Regions from separate parts of the Homo sapiens genome. Here all the other regions are linked to region 1. The links are contacts of gene promoters, found by promoter capture Hi-C in blood cells and fetal thymus (Javierre and others, 2016). All regions are on one chromosome and are shown on one strand. The core of a region is centred on a gene start or on the middle of the fragment in contact, and the rest is flanking DNA. Distances in the headings are between cores, read along the strand shown. Region 1 holds the start of BRSK1 (BR serine/threonine kinase 1). Region 2 has its middle 6.0 kb from the start of MIR6805. Region 3 overlaps SYT5 (synaptotagmin 5). Region 4 overlaps PTPRH (protein tyrosine phosphatase receptor type H). Region 5 overlaps GARIN5B (golgi associated RAB2 interactor family member 5B).

Region 1 (2,544 bases), core at 25-2,524:
CACAGGAGCCAATAGGCTCCTGTGTGCACTTTATTTTATTTTATTTTTGTTAGAGACAGGGCCTCACTCTGTTGCTCAGGCTGGAGTGCAGTGGTGCAAACGTAGCTCACTGCAGCCTAGAACTCACTGACTCAAGCCTCAGCCTCCCAAGTAGCTGGGACTACAGGCACATGCCACCATGCCCGGCTAATTTTTAAAAAAATTTTTGTAGGGATGGGGTCTCACTGTGTTGCCCAGGCTGATCTTCCCACCTCTGTCTCCCAAAGTATTGGGATTACAGGCATGAGCCACCTTGCCCAGCCCTGGGTGTGCTTTACAGGGGACTTGAGAATTAAATGGGTGTCTAACACTTGCGGGTACATGACATAGAGGGATCTATGGTTTATGCGGAAAGCTAATGGGGGCAGGCGGGTTACTCACAGGCAGAGCACATGCTTGTGGACCTGCTACAGTGGGGATGTATGGGCTGTACTGGGGTCCACATGAAGATATAAAGGACCCTATGACGAGCACAGAGAATATATGGGGGTCTAAAAACATAACACAGGGAAACTGAGGGGGTTCTGGAAGCTTCTCTGTAAAGAGAATCCAAAATCACTCTGGGCTGTGGGTAGATATGGGGCCTTGACATTGGTGGGGACACAGACTTACCCTTACCCTGAATGGGTGGCCTTAGGGGGCTGGGGAAACAGACATGAATTTTGGGTCAGCAACTCCAAGAATTCTTTCCCCTCTCTGTCTCTGTCTCCCTCCATATGTCCCCACCTCTCCCCAGCACGTGTCCCTCCACCTGTGTGTACCCCCGGCCCTCTCTACAGCTCCATCTGCGCCCCCTCTCCCCCACCTCTCTGGTTGGTCTTCCTCTCTCTGTCTCTCTGAATCTCTGACTCTCTCCATCCCTCTGTCGGCTTCCAGCAGCTTTCTCTCCCTCTCCCTGTCTGTTTTCCCGGCTTGCCATTCCTTCCTTCTCTTCTGTCCCTGTCCATCTCTGCCCTTCCTCCCTCTCTGCCTCAGCCTGTCTCTGGTGGTCTCCATCCCTCTGGCGTCTCTGCCTGTCTCCCGTCTCTGTGTCAGCCAGCATCTCTCTTTGTGTATCTCCATCTCTGCCCCATCTGTTGGGTCCTCTCTCTCTCTCTCCATCCTTCCCTCCATCCTCTCTCCTGCATCCTCCCACCTCCTCTCCATCCCTCCAGCTGGAGGCCCGCCCCCTGCCCCCCCTCGCTCCCCCTCCCCCCTCCGAAAGGGTTAACTTTGGGGAAGGGCCCGGAGTCCCCGGATGGTGATGTCAGCGTGCCGGAGAGAAAGGACGAGGTGGCGGGGGGAGGCGGAGAGGAGGAGGAGGCGGAGGAGAGAGGGCGCGTGGGGGGGCGGGGGGGACCTCGGCCTGCAGCATCCGCCGGCCCGCACCTCAGACCCCCCCGGCGGGGGGAGGCGCAGGAAGCGGGGGGCCGGCCAGAAACGGGCTGGGGAGGGGGGGCCCCGCAGCCCCCCTGGGCCATGCTGACTCCCGGGGCCTGACCCCCCCGGGCCAGCCCCCCCTCCCCCAGCTCCGCGGCCCGCCGACTGGGGGGGGCCAGCCCAGCCCCCTGGGGACCCCCGGAGAGGTGGGGGGCAGCCGGGGGGGCCGGGACGGAGCGGTCGCCGGCCCCCACCGGAGAGACGGGGCGACGGCCGCAGGGGGGGCGGCCGGGGGACCGGTCGGGCCGGGACCAAGGGCACCATGTCGTCCGGGGCCAAGGAGGGAGGTGGGGGCTCTCCCGCCTACCACCTCCCCCACCCCCACCCCCACCCACCCCAGCACGCCCAATATGTGGGCCCCTATCGGCTGGAGAAGACGCTGGGCAAAGGACAGACAGGTGAGCCTAGCAGAAGGGGACACCTGGGGCGGGGGGCAGGGTGGAGGTGGCGGCAGAGGCGGGACTCAGGGTATTCAAATGGCAGGGGCTGGCTGCCCAGACCCCTGGGCCCCTCATAGAGAAGGGACTTGGGATTCAGACTCCTGGGTCCCTGGATGGAGGGGGTGGGGGGCGCAGACTCAGGTCCTGGAGGAGAGGGGCTGGGGGCCTGGACTCCTGGGTCTGAGGGAGGAGGGGCTGGGCACTGGACTCCTAGGTCTGAGGGAGGAGGGCCTGGGGGCCTGGACTCCTGGGTTTCAGGGAGGAGGGCCTGGGGGTCTGGACTCCTGGGTTTCAGGGAGGAGGGGCTGTGCTTGGACTCCGGAGTCTGAGGGAGGAGAGGCTGGTGGCCTGCACTCCTGGGTCTGAAGGAGAAGGGCTTGGGGGCCTGGACTCCAGGGTCTGAGGGAGGAGGGGCTGGGGGTCTGGACTTCTGGGTCTGAGGGAGGAGGGGACTGGGGTCCTGGACTTTTGGGTTTGAGGGAGGAGGGACTGCGGTCCTGGACTTTCAGGTCTGAGGGAGGAGGGCCTGGGGGCCTGGACTCCTGAGTATGAAGGAAGAGGGTCTGGGGTCTGGACTCCTGGGTCTGAGGGAGGAGGGGCAGGGGTGCTGAACTCCTGGGTCTGAAGGAGGAGGGGCTGGGGGCCT
Region 2 (2,544 bases), core at 23-2,522, 110 kb after region 1:
CATCAGCACACACAGGCTGCGGGCCCCTTTCGATGGCCATCAGCGCTGCATTGATGAAGCCACTCATTTAAACACACCCCTCAATGGCTAATCCCCCAGAGGCTCCCCAGCACCCCTCTCCTCTGTTCCTCTTGAACACCTGGCCCTCCCCCAGGCCCAGCCATCCCTAGCATGTCTGAATCACACCTCCAGCGGCCCCAGCTCCCACCGGCCTCCCACACCCGCCCGCTCCCCTGCTGTCCCTCCAGGCTGTTCTCTACACAGTAGCAAATTGATCTTTACAAATGATAAATGAGACCTGTCATCCTCCCTTGGCCGACGCACCCCCCCCCCCCCCCGACCCCCATGAGGAATAAAAGCCCAAACCTTTCTCTAGGGCCAGCAAGGCCCGGGATCTGGCCCTGTCCAGTCTCCCCAGCCTCCTTAGGCTGTAATCTCTGAGGCCTCTCTCCTCCCTGAAGCTCCTAGCTGGTCCCTAGGCTCAGATGAAGACTGTCTCCAAAAAAAGAAAAAGGTATAATTCACGTAACATAAAGTCCACGCTTTTAGAGTGCACAATTCAGTGATTTTTAGTCTTCACAAAGCTTTGCAACCACAACCCCTATCTTATTCCAGAACATTTCATCATCCTGAATGGACACCCAGTATCCATGAAGCAGCCACTCCCACTCATGTCCCCTCTAGCCCCTGCCCTGCCAATCACCAATTTGTTTTTTTTTTTTTTTTTTTGAGATGGAGTCTTGCTCTGTCGCCCTGGCTGGAGTGCAATGGCATGACCTTGGCTCACTGCGACCTCAGCTCACTGCAACCTCCACCTCCTGGGTTCAAGCGATTCTCCTGCCTCAGCCCCTCAAGTAGCTGGGATTACAGGGGCCCGCCACCACGCCTGGCTAATTTTTGTATTTTTAGTAGAGACGGGGGTGTCACCATGTTGGCCAGGCTGGTCTCGAACTCCTGACCTCAGGTGATCTGCCTGTGTTGGCCTCCCAAAGTGCTGGGATTACAGGTGTGAGCCACTGCACCCAGCTACAAGTCTTTTTTTTAAAGGGACAGGGTCTCAGCTGGGTACGGTGGCTCACTCCTGTAATCCCAGCACTTTGGGAGGCCCAGGCAGGCGGATCACAAGGTCAGGAGATCAAGACCATCCAGGCTAACACAGTGAAACCCTATCTATACTAAAAATACTAAAAACTGGCCAGATGTGGTGGTGTGCGCCTGTAGTCCCAGCTACTTGGCAGGCTGAGGCAGGAGAATCGCTTGAATCCAGGAGGCGGAGGTAGCAGTGAGCCAAGATCACGCCACTGCACTCCAGCCTGTGTGACAGAGCGAGACTCCGTCTCAAAAACAAACAAACAAACAAAAAGATAAAGGTCTGTTGCTCAGGCTGGAGTGCTGTGGCACAATCTCGGCTCACTGCAGCCTTGAACTCCTGGGCTCAAACAATCCTCCCACCTCAGTCTCCGAAGTAGCTGGCACCACCGGTGTGCTCCACCACACCCAGCTAAGTTTTAAATATTTTTGTAGAGACAAGGTCTCACTGTGTTACCCAGGTTGGGCTTGAATTCCTGACCTCAAGTGATCCTCCTGCCTTGGCCTCTAAAAGTGCTGGGATTACAGGTGTGAGCCACTGCACCTAGCCCAGAATTTCTATTTATTTATATATATTTTTAAAAAGAATCTCACTCTGTTTTCCAGGCTGGAGTGCTGTGGCAAGATCAAGGCTCTCTGTAGCCTTGAACTCCTGGGCTGAAACAGTCCTCCCACCTCAGTCTCCAGAGAGGCTGGGACCACAGGTGTGTGCTGCCACACCCAGCTAATTTTTAAAATTGTTTTGTAGAGACACGATCTCACTATGTTGTCCAGGCTGGTCTTGAACTCCTGGGCTCAATCCTCCCAAAGTGCTGGGATTATAGGCGTGAGCCACTGTGCCTGGCCCCACCCAGAATTTTTAAAACATGAAAAAGCTTATGTTTTGGGCCAATCTCTAAAATATATTAAGTGAAAAAAAGCAACCTGCAAATAGTGTAAATGATATGCCAACATTCCTGTTAAATATTTTTAAATATTTAAACAATAAGATGCATGTGTATTTGCTTGTATATGCATCGAATGCCTCTGGATAGTCACAATATGCAAACATTTGTCTCAAGGAAGGAGAGTTGGAATACCATGTGATGAATATTAGCCTTTCTTTTTTTTCCTTTTCTTATTTATTTATTTATTTATTTTTTTGAGACAGAGTTTCACTCTTGTCGCCCAGGCTGGAGTACAGTGGTGCGATCTCGGCTCACTACAACCTCTACCACCTGGGTTCAAGCGATTCTTCTGCCTCAGCCTCCCAAGTAGCTGGGATTACAGGCATGCGCCACCATGCCCAGCTAATTTTGTATTTTAAGTAGAAACAGGGTTTCACCATGTTGGCCAGGCTGGTCTTGAACTGACCTCAAGAGATCCACCCATCTTGGCCTCCCAAAGTGCTGGAATTACAGGCGTGAGCCACTGTGCCTGGCCTTCTTTTTCTCTTTTTTTTTTTTTTTTGAGACA
Region 3 (2,544 bases), core at 22-2,521, 110 kb before region 1:
CAGCCTCCTGAGTAGCTGGGACTACAGGCATGTGCCATCACGCCCAGCTAATTTTGTATTTTTAGTAGAGACAGGGTTTCTCCGTGTTGGTCAGGCTGGTCTCAAACTCCCGACCTCAAGTGATCCGCCGGCCTTGGCCTCCCAAAATTCTGAGATTACAGGCGTGAGCCACTGCGCCCGGCTGTATTTATTTATTTATTTATTTAAGGCAGGGACTTGCTCTGTTGCCTAGGCTGGAGTACTCCAGCCTGAAACTCCTGGGCTCAATCGATCCTCCCACCTCTGCTCCCCAAGTAGCTAGAACTATAGCCACGTGCCAGCATACCTAGCTAACTTTACAAATTTTAAAAATAGAGAGGTTATCCAGGCTGGTGTCTAACCCTGGGCCCCAAGCAATCCTCCTGCCTCCCAAAGTGCTAGGATTAAGGCATGAGCCATCGTGCTTGGCCTTGTTTTCTTTTTAAATTGGTGTAAAACACACACACTATTAAGTTGATTGGGAATGACATTTAGTACACTTGCAATGCTGTGCAACCATCACCACTGTCTAATTCCAGAACTTTCTCATCACTCCAAAAGAAAACACGTACCCCATTTATCTCCCCATTTCTCTCTCCTCTGTCCCTGGCAACCACGAATCTACTTTCTGTCTCTATGTATTTGTCAGTGCAGGAGATTTCTTTTGGATGGAATACTGCACTATGCAGCCTTCTGTATCCGGCTTCCTTCACTTGGCATAATATTTTCAGGACTCATCTATGCTGAAGCATGAATCAATGCTTTCTTCTGTTTTTATGACCAAATAATATTCCACTGTTGTTCTCCCTAACCTTTGCAAGCTTCGTTCCTTCTTGTCATTCAAGTCATGGCCCAGACCGCACCTCCTCAGCAAGGCTGCCCCTGACCACCCTCCCTAAGTTATGTCAGCCTTTTTACGTTTTGGTCCCAGTGTGGACGGCCATTTGTAATGGTTTTATTCTTCTATCGCTCTGCTTTCTTGTTGAGACAGAGACCCAAGGACCCCATTGCCATCATCTAAATCAATCCCAGGATTTAGAGACAGGCTCTCTGGCTGTGTGATTCTGAGCATTTCACAGGAATTCTCTCTCTCTCTCTCTCTCTCTTTTTTTAGATGGAGTTTTGCTCTTGTTGTCCAGGCTGGAGTGCAATGGCGCGATCTCGACTCACTGCAACCTCCACCTCCTGGGTTCAAGCGAGTCTCCTGCCTCAGCCTCCCTAGTAGCTGGGATTACAGGTGCTTGCCACGACACCCAGTTAATTTTTGTATTTTTAGTAGAGACAGGGTTTCAGCATGTTGGCCCAGCTGGTCTTGAATTCCTGACCATAGGTGATCCGCCCACCTCAGCCTCCCAAAGTGCTGGGATTACAGGCGTGAGCCACTACGCCCAGCCCCAAATTTTCTAAAGCACAGTTTGGACTCATTTGTCAACTGGGAATAATGATCATGTTTATTTCATGAGTTTGCTGTGAGGATTATTATTGGCAGTAATAGTAGTAACATAAAGGGCTGTCTTCATAAAGACATGCTCTACAGCCACACACACACACACACACACACACACACACACACACACACTCACACACATGAAAAGTTACTGAATTCCTTTGGAGAAAAATTAAAAATCTCATGGATATTATAATCTGTGTAGCTGTTCTATTTTCACTTTCCCGATTGGCTACCAGGAAGCTTAGGAGCAAGTAAGTTTGTTTGCTGCCTCCTTTTTTGGTACGTGGGGGTAATTTTTGCCTCATTCTCCACTTAATCTGCTGCTCAGAGAGTTCTCTGGCCAAATCTTATAGGTCTTTGTTCACCACCCAAAATTCTGTATGGGATGAGATAAGGTAGAAGCCAATGGAACTATCATCTTTGCTAGAAACAGAGTAGGAGGCAGCATTCGTTGAAAGAACAATGAGGTCAGATGCGGCGGCTCATGTCTACAGTCCCAGCTACTCACACAGGAGGATTGCAGGAGTTTGAAACCAGCCTGTGCAACATAGCAAGACCCCATCTCTAAAAAAGAAAAGAAAAGAAAAGAAAAAATTAGCTAGGCATGGTTGCATGTGCCTGTGGTCCCAGCTACTCAGGAGTCTGAGGCAGGAGGATCCCCTGAGCCCAGGAGGTTGAGGCTGCAGTGAGCTATGATTGCCCCACCGCACTCCAGCCAGGGTACACAGAGAAACCCTGTCAAAAAAAGAAGAAAGAAGAGGCTGAGGCAGAAGAATCGCTTGAACCCGGGAGGCAGGGGTTGCGGTGAGCCGAGATTGCACCATTGCCCTCCATTCTGGGCAACAACAGCGAAACTCCGTCTCAAAATTAAAAAAAAGAAGAAGAGAAGAAAAGAAATAGAAAAGAAAAGAAAAGAAGAAGGGCCGGGCGCGGTGGCTCACGCCTGTAATCCTAGCACATTGGGAGGCCGAGGCGGGCGGATCACGAGGTCAGGAGATCGAGATCATCCTGGCTAACACGGTGAAATGCCGTCTCTACTAAAAATACAAAAAAATTAGCCGGGTGTGGTGGCGGGC
Region 4 (2,544 bases), core at 13-2,512, 92 kb before region 1:
ACGGAGTCTCGATCTGTCACCCAGGCTGCAGTGCAGTGGCGTGATCTCAACTCACTGCAAGCTCTACCTCCCAGGTTCACGCCATTCTCCTGCCTCAGCCTCCCAAGTAGCTGGGACTATAGGTGCCCGCCACCAAGCCTGGCTAATTTTTTGTATTTTTTAGTGGAGACAGGGTTTCACCACGTTAGCCAGGATGGTCTTGATCTCCTGACCTTGTGGTCTGCCTGCCTCAGCTTCCCAAAGTGCTGGGATTACAGGCATGAGCCACCGCACCCAGCAATCTTGTTTATTGATATCTCCTGTACTAGAATATAAGCCCCTGGCGGGCAAGAATCTTGGTTTCATTTGCTGTTTGTTTGGCACCTGGAACAGTGCCTGATACATGCTGGTGCTCAGCTGATATCTGCTGAATGAATGAATGTCCGGGAGTTGAGACCAGAACTGAATTCGCTGGCCCAGGCTGCTTGGGGAGTGAGTCACGATGGAAGGGCCGTGGTCCCTGTCGCAGAGGCATGGGCCCCTTCTGAGACCTTTGTGGGTAAATGCATTGATCCACCCTCTGACCTAGCTGGCAGCCAGCAAACACCCCTTGATTTGACCAGATTCTTTCCAATGCACCCCCCAGACCTTCTGCTCACCTAAAGACCAGATCCCTGAGTTCTGGTTTCTGCTGCTTCTTCTTATTCCTGGGAAAAGGACGTTAGGATGAGAGGCTCAGGGGGTGAGGCTGCAACCAGCGGTCCTCCTCCTTCTTCTCCAGCCCCCACCCTCCAGGCGGTCAGCCCTGTGCTGAGTCTCACCTCCTCTTCAGGAAGAAAATCAGCAGGCCCACGAGGATGAGAAACAGGAGGATGCCCACAAAGGCTCCGGCAATGACCCCTGTGGGGAGGAGGCATCGGGAACCCTCAGAGCGCAGGTCTGAGCTGCTCATCTGTCTCCAACCCTGCCCAGCCTTTCCTCTTCCCCAGGAGCCTGGTCCAAAGACAGCTGACCCCCGAACATCACACGGTGTGAATTGCGTCGGTCCAGTTATACTTACGCGCTTACCCATGGATTTTCCTCCACCCCTGAGACAGCAAGACCAGCCCCTCTCCTACCTCCTCCTCCTCCTCCGCCTACTCAACGCGAAGACTACAAGGAGGAAGACCTTTATGATGATCTACTTAATAAATAGCGAGTACATTTTCTCTTCCTTAGGATATTCTTAGTAACATTTTTTTCTTTAGCTACTTGATTATAAGAATACAGCATATAGTACGGCCGGGCGCGGTGGCTTACGCCTGTAATCCCAGCACTTTGGGAGGCGGAGATGGGCACATCACGAGGTCAGGAGATCGAGACCATCCTGGTTAACACGGTGAAACCCCATCTCCACTAAAAATACAAAAAATTAGCAGGGCGTGGTGGTGGGCGCCTGTAGTCCCAGCTACTCGGGAGGCTGAGGCAGGAGAATGGCGTGAACCCGGGAGGTGGAGCTTGCAGTGAGCCCAGATCACACTACTGCACTCCAGCCTGGGTAACAGAGCAAGACTCTGTCTCAAAAACAAACAAACAAACAAAAAGAATACAGTATGTAGTACATATTACAGATGAAATGTATGTTGTTTATGTTATTGGTAAGGCTTCCAATCAAGAGTAGGCTATTAGTAGTTAAGTTTTGGGGGAGTCAAAAGTTATGTGCAGATTTTTTTTTCTTTTTCTTTTTCTGAGACAGAGTCTTGCTCTGTCACCCAGGCTGCAGTGCAGTGGTGCGACCTCGGCTCACTGCAACCTCTGCCTCCCGGGTTCACGCCATTCTCCTGCCTCAGCCTCCTGAGTAGCTGGGACTACCGGTGCCCGCCACCACTCCTGGCTAATTTTTTGTATTTTTAGTAGAGTTGGGGTTTCACCGTGTTAGCCAGGGTGGTCCTGATCTCCTGACCTCGTGATCCACCTGCCTCAGCCTCCCAAAGTGCTGGGATTATAGGCATGAGCCACCATGCCCGGCTGTTATATGCAGATTTTCTACTGTGTAGGGGACAATTGTTCAAGGGTCAACTATCCATCATTTTCACAGGTGACCTGGTTGCTGAAGAGTGACTCCTGGCCAGGCATGGTGGCTCACCCCTGTAATCCCAACACTTTGGGAGGCTGAGGTGGGTGGATCACTTGAGCCCAGGAGTTTGAGACCAGCCTGGGCAACATAACAAAACCCAGTCTCTACTAAAAAAACAAAAGTTAGCTGGGTATGGTGGTGCACACCTGTCATCCCAACTACTCAGGAGGCTGAGCATAAGAGTCACTTGAACCCGGGAGGTGGAGGCTGCAGTGAGCTGAGATTGCACGACTGCACTCCAGACTGGGTGATAGAGTGAGACTCTGTCTCAAAAAAAAAAAAAAGAAAAAGAAAGCAAAACAAAACAAAAAGAACCCCAACAAAATAGCTGGGCATGGTAGTACATGCCTGTAGTCCCAGCTACTCAGGGGACTGAGGCAGGAGGATCACTTGAGCCTGGGAGGTGGAGGCTGTGGTGGGCATGATCGTATCACTGCACTCCAGCCTGG
Region 5 (2,544 bases), core at 22-2,521, 73 kb after region 1:
TCAAAAACTTGGCTGGGCTTTTGGAGGCTGAGGCAGGAGGATCACTTGAGCCCAGGAAGATAAAGGCTGCCATGAGCCACGATCACACCGCTGCACTCTAGCCTGGCAATAGAGCTCACCCCTGTAATCCCAGCACTTTGGGAAGCCGGATGGATCACCTGAGGTCAGGAGTTTGAGACTAGCCTGGCCAACATGGCGAAACCCCATCTCTAAAAAAAAAAAAGAAAAGAAAAGAAACAGGGTGTCACTCTATTGCCCAGGCTGCAGTGCAGTGGCACGATGGTGGGTCACTGCAGCCTCGACTTCCCAGTTCAACCAGTCCTCACATCTCAGCCTCCAGAGTAGCTGGGACCACAGGCACATGGCACCATGCCTAGTTAACTTTTTTTTTTTTTGAGACGGAGTCTCGCTCTGTTGCCCAGGCTGGAGTGCAGTGGCACGATCTCAGCTCACTGCAACCCGTCGCCATGCCCGGCTAATTTTTGTATATTTAGTAGAGATGGGGTTTCACCATCTTGGCCAGGCTGGTCTTGAAATCCTGACCTCGTGATCCACCCTCCTCGGCCTCCCAAAGTGCTGGGATTACAGGTGTGAACCACCAACTTTTTTTGTTTTCACATTTTGTAGAGATGAGGTCTCACTCTTTTGCCCAAACTTGTCACCATTTTTTAATGTACCCCTTAAAGTGGCATTCGGCACATTCACAATGTCATGCAACCACCTCTACCTAGTTCCAGGGCATTTGTATCACCCACAAAGAAACCTCCAACCTGGCTGGGCACGGTGGCTCACGTCTGTAATCCCAACACTTTTGGGAGGCCGAGGTGGGCAGATCACCTGAGGTCAGGAGTTCGAGACCAGCCTGGCCAACATGGTGAAACTCCGTCTCCACTAAAAATACAAAAATCAGCCGGGCGTGGTGGTGAGCACCTATAATCCCAGCTACTCGGCTCCTCAAGAGGCTGACAGGAGAATTGCTTGAACCCAGGAGGCAGAGGTTGCAGTGAGCTGAGATCGCGCCACTGCACTCTAGCCTGGGCGACAGAGCAAGACTCCGTCAGAAAAGAGAAGAGGAAGGGAGGGGAGAGGACCTCCAACCCATGAGTAGTCACTCCCGCTTCCTCCACACTAGACCCCTGGCCTCCAACGATTCACTTTCTGTCTCTACGGGTCAGCCTGTTATGGACATTTCATGGAAATGGGGTCTTTGTGGCCTTTTCTGTCCTCCAGGTGCCCACTCTTGCCCCCCTACATCCTCCATGCCCCAGCCAGAGGCAGCCTCTTCACACATAAATCCGTCTCCATCATTCTTCTGCTCCAAACCCTCCAGCTCGCTCAGAGTCAGAGCCAAAGTCCCTAAAATTGTCTGCAAAGTCCTCCATGATGGGCGCCCCCCTGCTGCACCTCTGACCGCATTTCCCACCCCGGGATCCCCGTGGTCCAGCACATTACAAACACTCCTGCCTCAGGGACTGCAGTGGCTGTTCCTTCCGCTGGGATGCTTTCCCCCCAGATGTCCTCATGGCTTCCTCCGTCCTCTCCTCCAGGTCTTGACACAAACAACCCCAGCTCCGTGAGGGCTCCCTAGAGCACCTGGGCTGTGGTGGGGGCTGTCCTGTGCACTGTAGGTTGCTCAGCAGCATCCCTGGTCTCTACCTGCTAGAAGCCAGGAGCACATCCCACCACCACCAGCCCCATGGTCGGACACTGTATCCCCACTGCCTAGAACAATGCCTGGCACAGAGTCGGCACTCACTATATATCAGAGTGAAAGGGGGCCAGGCGTGGTGGCTCACGCCTGTAATCCCAGCACTTTGGGAGGCCGAGGCGGGTGGATCACTTGAGGTCAGGAGTTCAAGACCAGCCTGGCCAACATGGTGAAACCCCATCTCTACTAAAAATACAAAAATTAGCTGGGCGTGGTGGCACACGCCTGTAATCCCAGCTACTCAGGATGCTGAGGCAGGAGAATTGCTTGAACCCAGGAGGCGGAGGTTGCAGTGAGCCAAGATCATACCACCGCACTCCAGCCTGGGTGACAGAGTGAGACCCTGTCAAAAAAAAAAAAAAAAGTGAAAGGAAAGAGTGATCATCTCTGTCTCATAAACAGCAGAGCTCACAGTAAATAATAGCTGCTAACCCCCGCTACCTGGGCAGAAGGTTCAAGACGCCCGATTCCTCCTGTATCTCCTCTGCCTTGGTGGCCGTGTTCCTCACAGTTTCAAGTTCTAAGAGCATGGGCAAAAGAATTTCTGAAGACGACCCCACAGTGGCCAGGGGGTGCTGGGCTGGCATCCTCATGGGCTCCTGCGACACCCTCTTGGGCTGCTGGGACGCCCTGGCTGTGGCCTCCATCTTTGAGATGAGGGTCTCCGAGAGGGGCGATGGCCGTAAGTCCTCCCACGGTGAGGCGGTCAGGGGGATAGGCGCCTGGGAGATTCCTTCCCTCTTCAGACTGGCAGAGGTGGGCTTGGAGCGAAAGGGCACCTTGGGTGGCCCCTTGGGGTCCCAGGGTGGCTCCTTCATCTCGCCCCATGGCTGCTC

The links. The method cuts DNA at HindIII sites, captures the fragments that hold promoters and counts their contacts. A CHiCAGO score of 5 or more calls a contact.
Region 2: a contact is called between a fragment that was not itself captured here and the fragment with the promoter of BRSK1 in region 1, in 13 of 17 cell types (erythroblasts, megakaryocytes, M0 macrophages and 10 more). The highest score is 15.8, in erythroblasts.
Region 3: a fragment that was not itself captured here is called in contact with the fragment with the promoter of BRSK1 in region 1 in 15 of 17 cell types (erythroblasts, endothelial precursors, M1 macrophages and 12 more); the score reaches 12.1 in erythroblasts.
Region 4: a fragment that was not itself captured here is called in contact with the fragment with the promoter of BRSK1 in region 1 in 7 of 17 cell types (megakaryocytes, total CD8 T cells, erythroblasts and 4 more); the score reaches 8.4 in megakaryocytes.
Region 5: a contact is called between a fragment that was not itself captured here and the fragment with the promoter of BRSK1 in region 1, in 9 of 17 cell types (erythroblasts, megakaryocytes, M1 macrophages and 6 more). The highest score is 9.1, in erythroblasts.

Annotation. Positions count from the first base shown.
Region 1 is chr19:55,282,723-55,285,266 of GRCh38, forward strand. BRSK1 (BR serine/threonine kinase 1) reads left to right here and starts at 1,275. Exons shown (of 19, transcript NM_032430.2): 1 at 1,275-1,856. The coding sequence starts at 1,721. The HindIII fragment of the contact is 8,428 bases long and covers 569-2,544 here.
Region 2 is chr19:55,392,922-55,395,465 of GRCh38, forward strand. It overlaps a transcript of RPL28 not described here. Among named protein-coding and RNA genes, the nearest start is that of MIR6805, 6.0 kb to the left of the region's middle. The HindIII fragment of the contact is 1,380 bases long and covers 583-1,962 here.
Region 3 is chr19:55,169,750-55,172,293 of GRCh38, forward strand. It overlaps SYT5 (synaptotagmin 5), which reads right to left. Exons shown (of 9, transcript NM_003180.3): 9 at 1,447-2,544. Among named protein-coding and RNA genes, the nearest start is that of DNAAF3, 4.4 kb to the left of the region's middle. The HindIII fragment of the contact is 869 bases long and covers 838-1,706 here.
Region 4 is chr19:55,190,863-55,193,406 of GRCh38, forward strand. PTPRH (protein tyrosine phosphatase receptor type H) reads right to left here. Exons shown (of 20, transcript NM_002842.5): 11 at 801-879; 12 at 639-686. Among named protein-coding and RNA genes, the nearest start is that of SYT5, 12 kb to the left of the region's middle. The HindIII fragment of the contact is 4,918 bases long and covers 1-2,544 here.
Region 5 is chr19:55,355,996-55,358,539 of GRCh38, forward strand. GARIN5B (golgi associated RAB2 interactor family member 5B) reads right to left here. Exons shown (of 11, transcript NM_001145402.2): 9 at 2,150-2,544. Among named protein-coding and RNA genes, the nearest start is that of COX6B2, 2.5 kb to the left of the region's middle. The HindIII fragment of the contact is 3,297 bases long and covers 1-2,544 here.